Regions from separate parts of the Homo sapiens genome. Here region 1 is linked to region 2. Evidence: promoter capture Hi-C in human tissues and cell types (Jung and others, 2019). All regions are on one chromosome and are shown on one strand. The core of a region is centred on a gene start or on the middle of the fragment in contact, and the rest is flanking DNA. Distances in the headings are between cores, read along the strand shown.

The links. Contacts are between HindIII fragments. The study calls those that stand out against the background at their distance.
Region 1: a fragment that was not itself captured here is called in contact with the fragment with the promoter of DOK7 in region 2 in 1 of the 25 tissues and cell types used here (mesendoderm cells).

Annotation. Positions count from the first base shown.
Region 1 is chr4:3,421,522-3,427,113 of GRCh38, reverse strand. RGS12 (regulator of G protein signaling 12) reads right to left here. Exons shown (of 18, transcript NM_001394154.1): 11 at 4,544-4,738; 12 at 4,136-4,209; 13 at 3,473-3,599; 14 at 1,554-1,650. Among named protein-coding and RNA genes, the nearest start is that of HGFAC, 18 kb to the left of the region's middle. RefSeq lists a silencer at 2,522-2,673 and an enhancer at 2,429-2,928. The HindIII fragment of the contact is 5,915 bases long and covers 1-4,240 here.
Region 2 is chr4:3,460,764-3,466,501 of GRCh38, reverse strand. It overlaps DOK7 (docking protein 7), which reads right to left and starts at 3,196. Exons shown (of 7, transcript NM_173660.5): 1 at 3,073-3,196; 2 at 2,951-2,996. The coding sequence starts at 3,126. RefSeq lists enhancers at 44-653, 3,571-4,418. The HindIII fragment of the contact is 11,592 bases long and covers 1-5,738 here.

The sequences.
Region 1 (5,592 bases), core at 34-2,533, 37 kb after region 2:
TCGGGGAAGGGTCTCTGCTCTGTGAGGAGTTGGGGAGGGGAGCAAGAGTTGGAGCTCCAGGACTAATGGCCTCAGCGCTTGCTTCTGACTGGGACCCATGGCCCAGGTCTCCCTGGGTGGGGACAAGTGAGCCACGTGCTCCCTGCGTGACATCATCAGGGCCAACAACCTGAAAGGCAGAGGGGCAGCCCAATGTCACCTGAAGTGGCTCCTCACAAAGTGAGCTCTCTACCTAGAACATCTGCAGGTGGGTTTCCAGAAAGCTCTTTCCAAGACACACCTCCCTACGGCACCTGCACCTGCAGGCCCCAAGGCCACGCCTCTGCCTGTCCCTGGGGACAGCTACAAACAGGACCCACCCTCCTGGGTCTGAGTAACCTTCCTCACGCACGGTTCTCAACAAGGGCTCTAAGGAGGGCCGGCTCCTGCGCGTCAGGATGAGGTGGGGGCCGGGCGACGAGCCCATCTCCGAAGGCTGCTGGCCGGACCCAGCTTCCCCAGGGCAGGACTGTCATGACCAAGGCAACACGTTGGAAAGAGCTCTGTCGACCGCCCGATTCCCTGCACGCAAGGAACTGCAGAACCAGCCCAAATGACCGAGCCTGCAGCCTCCATTTTGCCGGGCAGAGCACAGGCGCCTACTGCCCTGGCTTCCTGTTTTGTGCCTGGAGGGAAGGGCGCCAGATCAGGGCACCAAGGAGGGACCAGGGGGCCCAGACCAATTCTCTTTTGTGTACTAACTCCAAAGCCTCCCCCTCCCCTGGGCCAGCCCCGCCTGCCCTCTCTCCTGCACAAGCCCCACTCACCCCCTCCCCTGCACTGGCCCCGCTCGCCCTCTCCCCTATGCCAACCCCACAGCCCCCTCCCCTGCACTGGCCCCACTCGCCCTCTCCCCTATGCCAACCCCACAGCCCCCTCCCCTGCACTGGCCCCACTCGCCCTCTCCCCTATGCCAACCCCACAGCCCCCTCCCCTGCACTGGCCCCACTCGCCCTCTCCCCTATGCCAACCCCACAGCCCCCTCCCCTGCACTGGCCCCGCTCGCCCTCTCCCCTGTGCCAACTCCACAGCCCCCTCCCCTGCACTGGCCCCGCTCACCCTCTCCCCTATGCCAACCCCTGCCCCCTACCCTGTGCAGGCCCCACAGCCCCCTCCCCTGCGCTGGCCCCACTCGCCCTCTCCCCTGTGCCAACTCCACAGCCCCCTCCCCTGCACTGGCCCCGCTCACCCTCTCCCCTATGCCAACGCCACAGCCCCCTCCCCTGCACTGGCCCCGCTCGCCCTCTCCCCTATGCCAACGCCACAGCCCCCTCCCCTGCACTGGCCCCGCTCACCCTCTCCCCTATGCCAACGCCACAGCCCCCTCCCCTGCGCTGGCCCCACTTACCCTCTACTCTGTGCAGGCCCCGCCCACCCCCTCTCCTGCGCAAGCCCCACCTGCCCCTCCCCTGCACTGGCCCCACTCACCCCCTCCCCTGCACCGGCTCCATAGCCCCCTCCCCTGCACTGGACCCACTCACCCTCTCCCCATCCGCTGCACCAGCCCTACTCACCCTTTCCTCTGGAAGGATCCTTCTCCTCCAAGACAACCCGCTGTCCGTCCAGACTCGATATAGGGGCGCCAAGGTCCAGGGGCTCCTTCTCTCCACTCTAGGGCAGAGATCAGCACTGAATAATTTACCCAGACTGGAACTTCAGGGAACAGATGTGTGTGATCCCACCCGACTGCATGACTGTCCTAGGCTTGATGGAGTCACGCAGGAGATGGCCCCGAGGTGAGGCCTGCCTGACTGAGGCACACAAGCTGGGGCTGAGCCATGCTCCTGACATGGGTCCCGACTACACGACCATCCTAAGCTCGATGGAATCACGCAGGAGGTGGCAACCCTTGGTCGCTGCTACAAGGGGAACACTGACCCTCGGACGCTGCTATGAGGGAAATACTGACCCTCGAAACTGCTATGAGGGGAATACTGAGAGCAGATGTTCCCCTTTGTAAACAAGGAAGCAAAGACAGACAACTTTAGGACCAGGTTTGAGGCTGAAATGAAGCGCCACTAGCCACCGGGCTGGAGTTCTTGTCTCTGCATCAGAGCTCTCCTCTGGCAGAGAATCTGACTCTTCACCTGCCATAGTCACTGTTAAGAAAAGACATCTGAACATGTTTGGCATTCACGATCTGTCAGTCAGGGGAATGACAGCTGTCCAATGCCAGGCGGGAGAGGCTCTAAGCTCCTGAAGGGGCTGGTCCGCTGGGCAGGCGTGGTGGGCCCTGCGGGGGAAGCAGAGGAACTGCCCCAGGTCCCGCCTTCTCCACCACATTCGTGGACACAGGGGGCCACAGAATTCACTGGAGAGGTCAGGAGACAGCGTCCAAGGAAAAGCCACATCCCAAACAACCCATTCCACACGAATCCTCCATAGCCCCCACAGCCTCGGCAGCCGAGGGCCGCAGCTCACAGGGAACGAGCCTGACCGCAGCCAGCCCTTCCACCCTGGTGCCCCCCAACCATGCCACGAGCACGCTGCCACGACCAACCCCATTTTACAGTCAGGGAAACTGTGACACACAGGGGCTAAACAATTGCGCAGCGTCTCCCCAGAGTCGGCCAGAGGGGCACACCTGGGAGCCAGGCCAGGTCTGTCTCCCACCTGCAGATTTCTGGACTCCAGGATGGAGCCTGCAGCGCGGGGAAGAGGCTTCAGGTTACCCTCGGAGGTGGTGTCTGTAAATAATTTAATAGGTTCTTCTTGTTCACTTCAAAGCTCTTGAATAATTTTGAGTGTAGTTTCAGGGAAAACTAAAATCCTGAAAATACTTGAAATCATTGCTCCAATAAAGTTTTCAAGGAAAGAAGACTAGGCAGACACTGTGCCCGGAACCCCCACGCTCCAGAGCACCCTCAGCGGGGCCCAGCTCTCGCCATCTCGCGTGGCCTGCCCAGCACCTGCGGTCACCACCCCACGCGGTGTTTTCTTTCTTAACCCCATTCACATCATAATGGCGCAGCCTGGAAATGCCAGCTGAGTTCTTCCATCTACAAAGTGCAGGTGAGAATCAGGACATCTCCATGTGACCGTGCACTGGGGGCATGAGCACAATGCCCGGGCCCAGCAGGTGCAGTGGGGGCAGGGCCATCCGCACTCTCTTATCTGATCACATTGGCCAACAGCGGAGGATAGTCCAGGGTTGGTTGCTTTGTTTCTCATTTTGGCCTCCCTGGAGCAAAACCACCTCTCAAATATCAATTCTTTTTGGAATGACCAAGGTACAAATAAACCATGATGGCTCCCACTGCACAGAACGAGAACTGGGGATGGCAGAGGCTGTCTCCTCTCCTCCAAGGGGGACAACCAGATCAGGGGAAGACACCGCTTCTTGGTGTGCCCTCTTCAGTGAACAACACAGAGGCTGCCAAAGGGAACAGACAGTGCCTGCGGTGACGACGCCCGGGCCCCGTGCAACACTCACCAGCCTCACCAGCAGGCCACTGAGGTCCAGGCCGTATCTGGCCACCACGGGCCGCAGCACCTCCGTGACGGGCTTGGTGGGCTTGGCCTTGAGTCCCACTGACCGGTTAATCGGAACAAGATCCAGCCTGGTGGGGGATGAAAAAATTCACTACCAACTCATGTCAGCCCTCATTAGGAGATCAGTCTCACGAGCAGAACTACAGCACAGCCCCAGGCCGCCCTCAAGGCCTCGGTGTGCCCCCCAGTTCAGCCCCAGCTGATCAGAACGTGCCTTCCTCCACGTGGGAAAAGTCAGGCCAAGCAAGGGCTATGGTCTCCTCCTCCAGGGATAGCAGTGTCCTGCACAGCAGCCTGGCTACCTGTGGGGCATCCACCCTACAGAGAGCACTCCTGCCCCTCCCTCTCGGCATCTTAGGGGGCTGGGCTCACCAGGCCAGGGCAGTCCCTGTTCACGGGACAGGGAGGAGAGGGCGCCTCTCACCCCCGGGCTTGTAGGGGGGCTGCCTCGTGTGGGCCTCCACCCTCCCCCCGCCCCGACACCCCATCGTAGCCCAGCATGGAGCATCCACAGGCCGCCCGCTAAGCGCAGAGACCAGCAGGTGGTGGGCACACGGGGTTGGCTCTGGGAGCCTCAGGTGAATGACAGCGATCTTCCTCTTACCGAAACAAGGTGCGCTTTTCTAGGCGCAGGTCCCTTGACTCCAAGATGCTACTGTCTTGGTGCAGCACCAGAGGCTGAGGAACAGAGAGACCAGAATCAACGTGGGCACAGCAGGCAGCCCCCCAAACGCAGACCCACGTGCCCCAGGCACACAGCTGTGCAGAGCAGAAGAGCAGCTTCAAAAACAGCCATCCAAAGAAAGCGATCACCCTTTCCACACCAACCCAGCACCCACGTGCAAAGTGCTCCCAGCAGATAGCTCAGTTCAGATAATCCGGCCTCCGCCCCAGGCGCTGTTGAAATGAGGAGCGCAGGAGGGGGCAGCCTGAGGACTCTGACAAAGCTGGGGGCCAGGGAGCGGGGAGGTCATGGCCTGAGGGCAGCACGAGGGTCAGGCGGGCCCAGTACCTTGTCCCCGCCCACCAGGAAGAGGTCCGCGGCCGCCCCGTTGATGCCATGCCGCTCACAGAGTCCGGACAGGATGTCTTTGATGGAGAAGCCCGCCTTGACAGCCACCACGCAGGATGTCCCATCCGGGAGATGAATGCAGCAGTGCTTGGTGGCCTTGTCCTTCTCGGGTGCCAAAGTCCTGCAGGCCTCCGACTGGGGAGCAGCGAGACAAGCAGCCGTGAGGGAACCAGCGTCACAGGGGTGCGGGGCACCTCCCAGAGCAGCCCAGCTGGCCCAGGCCGCACGTGCTGGGGAGGCTGGCGCCCTGCCACGGTCCCACCTGCAGCTCCCCAGGTGCACACATCTCAGGCTCAGTCCACACTGCCTGAGGTGCTGGGTTTTGTGAATTAACACGAGAGAGCGGTCATCATTCTCTCAGCTCTGGGCCTCAAGGGCCATCGTGCTCAGAAGGCACATCTGGGCTTCTCCACCCAGAAGCAGGGCTGTCCTGCGGGGCCCACTGAAGCTGCCCTGTGAGGACCACTCCCTCCCAGGGCTCTGGGTTCCAGCACCCTGTCCTCTCTATACACAGCTCCCCATGCACATCGTTCCAATGGAAACGTCGCCTGGACTGTGACTTCGTCGGCACTGCCTTCCGGTAGTCTGAGGTCTCTTTTCCCTGAGCATTATTTCAGGAAACTAGTTTGTACAGTGGTAGGCTGGCTGCACAAGTGGTTCCCAACCATCCCCTTCCCTGTATCTGTGCCCCTCATAATGCGGCTCTGTGGCTCCTCCCATGAAGAGGTGGAGTCAGCCCCAGCCCAGACCTGGGTGGGCAGAAGGAGCGGCTCCAAGCCTGGGCCTCCAGAGGCCGTCCTTACTCTGCTCACTGTCAGGGTCCCTGAGCCGGCTGTGGGACGGGGTGAACTGGCCTCCGCTGAGTGAGGCGAACGAAGGGTCCTGTCAGTGCTCCTTCCCCAGCCAAGGGCCAGCCATGCAACTGAGGGCCTCTGGGACCAGCCAGCTGGCTCACGTGCCAGGTAACCAGAAACACACGGCAAGGCCGG
Region 2 (5,738 bases), core at 1,947-4,446:
CAGGAAATCCACCACCAGGAGGCTCTGCTCAGGAAGGGCCGACCCAGTGTCCACCCCCAGCCCCTCGTTAGCGGAGGCGCTGTGGAGGGCAGGGCCCCAGGACAGCACTAGCCGTGGGGCAGCTCCGGGGCTCACGGGGCACCTGCCAGGGGGCTCCCGGCTCCTGCGCCGTCTCCGTGGGGTCCCTCCTGCAGGCCGGGCTCAGTCCCACCGAGAGCAAGGATAGGGGAGACTAAGCAAGGGCCCAGCCATCAGCCCGGGGGCAGGCGCGGAACTTCCAGCCAGCTGTGGGGGGCAAGGTTTGGGCTGGCTGGGGGGAACTGGGCTCTGCCCAGCAGTCCATGTCTTGGGCCAGATCCCTCGGGTTTCTGAGTTTCAGCTTCCCCCCACCATGGTGACTCCAAGACCCTGCCAGCTCCAGGACTCGGGCCCTCCCGGTGGCTTTTCTGAGCTGGATGAAGCCCCCAGGGGCAGCCCCTGTGGGAAGCAGGCCCCCTCAAGTGTCTGGCCTGGGGCCACACTCTCCACAGGATGTCAAGAACACTTTCCTCACCACCCCCAGCCCCCGCACCTGGGAGGAAGAAGAGAGGGGCTGGGCCAGGCGCCGCTGGCATGCAGGGCCACCAGCAGTGAGTCCTGGGCCACAACTGGACACAGACCACCCTCCTCCCCCGGGGCCCTGCCCAGAGAGGGGACGCAGACACGCATTCCGCAGTGAGGACGCGGTGGAGACATTGAGGAACGTGGTCCCACTGCAGGGCACCCTGCAGTCCCACACCGAGGCAGACGGCCCGACGTCCACTGGCCATGCCAGGCGCTGTGGCTGAGCAGCCCTTTGATAAAAGGGTTTCCCTTTCATTCGCTAAACCTTGTCATAACAGAAAGACGTGCTCACGATTGAGAAAAACGCAAGGAGGAGAAAGGTGCCAGTGGAAAAGGTGCACATCGGGGCCCTTCCCAGAAGGAAATCACCACTGGTAACAAAAAGAACCCTGCCTGTCTTACAAGGAAGCAGACGGGACCCTTCCTCTCTCCCTCACACCAGGAGCGCAGGGTCTGTGCTGTCTGCTCCTCCAGGGCTGGGGCCTGCTCCCTCCACGCCGGGCCCATCCACAAGGGAGGTGGTCTCCAGCGCTGAGCGGGAAGGCAGCTGGGTGAAGGCAAAGGGGGCAGCATCTAGGGAGGCTTATGAGGGGCCAGGGGAAGAGGCATCAGGGCCTCTGAGCGGAGAGGAGGTGCCAGGCTGGCCTGGTCAGGGTGGGGAGGTGGGCGTGAGAACTCCGCTCTGTCCCATCCCCTCATCTGACCGACCTCTGGGCAACCCCACAGGGTGTCAGTTTCAACCCTGGGCTGCTGGAGTGACCAACACAGAAAGCAGGTGTCCAAAGCAATGGGTCCCAGGCCAGTGAGTCAGTGGGTGCTAGGGACACCTGGCCTCAAGGCTTGGAATGAACATCCACCCAGAGGGGGCATGGCACCTTCTACTACCCCACATCACCTCCCACGCCAGCCCCAGAAGGCTGCAGATCTCAACTGCGCAGGATACGGGATAACCCAGCAGACGCTCGGGAGCCACCATGTTCACCTACAGACTCACAGATTGTCCCACCTGGGGGACCCATTGCAAACTCCTGTCACTCCACTCAGGCACTCACCGGCCGGGGGAGCACACCCTCTTGAGGCTGGCAGGCCCTGCCTCCTGGGACTGTCTGATGCAGAAAGAAAATCCCTCCAACAGGGACAAAGACTTCTCCCCCGACACTCCTCTTTGGGGGCTGCTGTCCCGGGTGCCTTCCTGGGATGCGGCCTCTCTGGAGGGTCTGCACCGGCTCCAGCCCAGCACCATCCACCAAGCATCACCTGCCCCACCACGGCCCCGACCCAGCCACAGCTGACTAAAGCCTGTCATCCGCCCCAGCCTGGCAGGGCCTCTCACTCTGCCCAGACCCCATCCCTTCCTATACCAGGTCCCCTGCAGCCCCGGAGGACAAAGACGCCCTCCCAGGCTCTGTCGGTGCCCCCACAGCTCCAGGCAGGAGGTCTGGGCACGGAGGGCTGAGTGGAGAAGTGACCAGCGTGCAGTCCAGGCCCTGCAAGGGGAGGCGGAGGCAGGCAGGAAGTGCTTTCCTCCAGGACCACCTGAGGCCCTGCAGAGGGGACGCAGGAGGGATCCCTGCCCCACACCCTCCCTGGGAGTCACAGACACCCGTCCTGGAGGGTGCTCTGGCAGCCCCCTGGCGTACAGCCCCCCATGCACACAGGCCGAGCATCCCACCCAGACCCGGGCCTGGCCGGCTCTGCCGCACCTGTCCTCTGGAGCAGCTGCAGGCCCGGCTCAGCCCTCCCTACAGGCCCAGCGCTGCAGGCGGCCTGGGCTGCCAGACCTGGGGGCTCCATGCTGACCCTCCCCAAGCTGGGGTGCTGGCTCAGGGCGGGGACTGGGGGGGGACCCCTGCCTCCTCCCAGAGGACTGTTCCCCCAGCAATGTGGCAGTCACTCTGCCCTGCCCTACCGCAGCCCAGCCTCTCGTCTGCCTGGGAGGGGTCCAGGGTCAGCGCTAACCCACGCAGCACCCCTGGAGGCTGGGTTCGGGGGCCCTGCTCTGAGCGTTTCCACAAGCACAGCTCAACCCTCAGGTATGTGGGGCTTTGCTTCTGGGGGGCCCCTTGCTGCTCTGCTGGGGGGCTCAGGGCCTGCGTCCCCTCCGCCTACAGGGCCACCAGGCAGCCCCTCGGGCCTCAGTCTGCCCTGCTGGAAAGAGGGTTCTTCCGTCCAGGGCCCCCACCTGCGCTCCCAGGGGCGCCGGGGGGTCCGGGTCCGCACGGGGCTCTCGGGTTTCCCGGCGGGGTGACAGCGGCGGCGATTTTGGGCAAGCTGGCATTACTGCCCCGGGCCTCGGTAACCCGTGTCGCTACCCCCGCGCCCCCCGTCCCCCGCCCGCCCCGCTCACCTGCCACGGGCGACGGCTTCCGCAGCACCAGCCACCTACTCTTCCACTGCGGGGACAGGGGGGAGCGTGAGCCGCCGCCCGCGCCCGCGCCCCCCCCCCCCGCGCCCCCGACGCGCCCCGACCTTCTTGCCGTCCCGCAGCTTGACCTGGCCCTCCACCAGCGCCGCCTCGGTCATCTTCTGTCATGGTTCCGCGCCGCCGCGCTCGCCCCGGCGCCCCAGCCCAGGGTCACTTTCAAAATAGCTCGCAGGGCCCTGGGCTGGGCCAGGAGGGCGGGCCCGCGGGCAGGGCGGCGACACCGGCGACTCCAGGGCCGGCGCGGGCGGGGCTCCTTCTCCTGCGGGCGGCTCCCCCACCCCCACGGGCCCCTCTGGCCCCACCGTCCCGCGGCGGCCACTGGAGCCGCCCGCCCTCTGGAGCAAGCGCACCATCTGGGCTCAGACGCTCAGACCAGCGCCTGGCGGGGCGGGGGTCGGGCGGGGACTTCTTTTTCAAAAAGCAGAGACAACCACCTAGCAGACATCGGCCCCGCTCTGGGCACTGCTCCCAACTTTAAAGTTGGTCTTCAAACAATCCGGCTTCCCAGACTGGCATCTGCCCCTACCCCAGGGGTCACTAGACACCCGGACAACAGACTGGCCACAGGCAGCCCAGGCCTAGGATGCTCTCACATCCCCAGGCTTCCCCCACACTGAGGTGACCCCTCCCCAGGCAGGCAGTAGGGGTCGGGGAGCCCCTGGCAGCCTCTGTCTCTTCCTCCATTTCTGTTCCCATTAAAAGCCTGCAGGGACCCCAGTGCAGGTGGGCGGGTCCAGGACCCACAGTGCCGCCTCAGGGCCCCAGGTCTCCACCTCTTCTGCCCCCATCCCAGGCAAGAGCAGGCCCTGGTTAGGCCAGCCGGCTCCGATGGGCAGAGGAGCTGCCTGCTTTGTAAAGGACCTGCCAGCAGCCCTCCCAGCTGGGTGGACTTTGCGCTTCTGGACTCCCCCTCCTTGACCCTGTGGCTCCAGTCCAGCTGTCCCCAAGCTCTGGCCTGGGCATTAGATGTCACATCCAGGTTCTTCTGCAGAGAGGCCATGTGCTTTGGGGGACCTGGCAGGTCCGTGCCTTGGGTGTCAGCCCCATCCGAGAGACGGCCTCCACCACCCTGGGGTTGGGGACACCCAGCAGATACGGGAACAGCAGTGGGGAGGGGCGATGGCACCCTAGAAGATAAGCACCTGGACAAACAGCAAAGCTCCGTCCACATGCCCTACCCTAGACCCCATCCTCACGGGGCTGACGGTTCTCGGGGGAGAAGAAGGAAGGGGTAGACAGTGTCCCGTTAGGGAGGAGACGTCTTCATTTCATCCCATCCAGACCCTAGGCTGGGCTCTGTCTGCCTCGCACTGAGGAGCAAATGGAATCAGGGCAGCGTGAGGCCTCACAGCCAGGACTGAGCCACATCGGCTGACCTCAGAGCAGGGCTCAGAGGCATCGGGAGCCCTGGGCGCCCCTCCCCACTGCCCCTGTGATCCAAGAGACAGGTCTCCGGTGGGCCACAAGGGTTGGCTTTGGTGCTTCGGTGATGTCTTGTCAGGGCCTCATGCAAGGCGGGGGACACCAGGCCCAGGAAGCAGAATTTTGCATCCCCCACCCACCCCCGCAGTCACCTGTGCAGCCACCAGCCGCCTTCCGCAGAACAGTTGCTGGGTCACAGAGCCCCATTCATGCTCCCCACACATCCCAGGCCCCCAAGGGGCTGGCCCAGGACAGCCGGTGCGGAGGCGGGGGCCGTTGGGGCTGTAGCCACAGACACATCCGCTGCCCTGGGCGCCTGGCACTTGCTTATCCCTACAGGGAGAGGCAGGGCCCTGCTGCATTCCTGAGTGCTGGCCCGGGCCCAGGCTCCTGCCATGCCTGGCAGCTGCACCTGCTCCCACACAGCCTGGAACACACAGGATGCCGGAGGGTAGACAACTCCCTTCCCTGCTCCATGCGGCTCCAGGGCTGCTGAAAGGTGGAGGAAGCTTCCTGCAGGAGGAGGAGGTGGCCTGGCTGCCACTCCCAGACTGGCCGAGAGCGCTGTGACCCTGGGCAAGCTCCTGCCCCGCTCCGTGCCTCAGAAGTTATAGCCAGAAGTTTCCCCAGAAGTTATAGCCAGGGTTGCTGGTTGCAAATGGAGAAATAGGCTGGCCACTGAGTAGGAAGGGGTTGATTGGAAGCAAATCAGGTCTCCAAGAACCAAGGGGAAGGCTGGAGAGCTGGTAGGCAGTGAAAACAGAGCCACATCCTGAAAGAGGAGGACACCACAGCTCAGCCCCACAGCACAGCTGGGCTCCACACGAGGGGCAGGGTCACCACCTTCAAAGGAGCCCACAGTCTCAGGTCACAGCAGCACCCCTGTCTGACCACAGAGCCCTGCTGCGGCTGCCATGCTGCTGCTGGACACTGTGGCCAGGGACACTGCCATCTCTGCCAGACCCCATGGTCGTGGCACATTGCCACCCGCCAGTGGCTCTGTGGCCAAGGGACCTGTCCCTGACTAGCCACACCACCTTCAGCCACCATGTGATCTTACTGGTCTCAGCTTCCTCTTCTACCTTGATACTGTGATGAGCCCCAATGAGATGGCGTCCATGAGCATCTTTCAAAATGATCCAGGGTTTTCCAAGGTGATTCCAAGGGGATGATGGGGACCAGGGGTGGGCTGCTTTGTCTTGCATCTCCAAGTGGCCTGGTGTGTGGGAGAGAAACACGTCAGCTGAGTGTGGCAAGCACTGTACCCTGTGGTCACACCCGTTTGTGC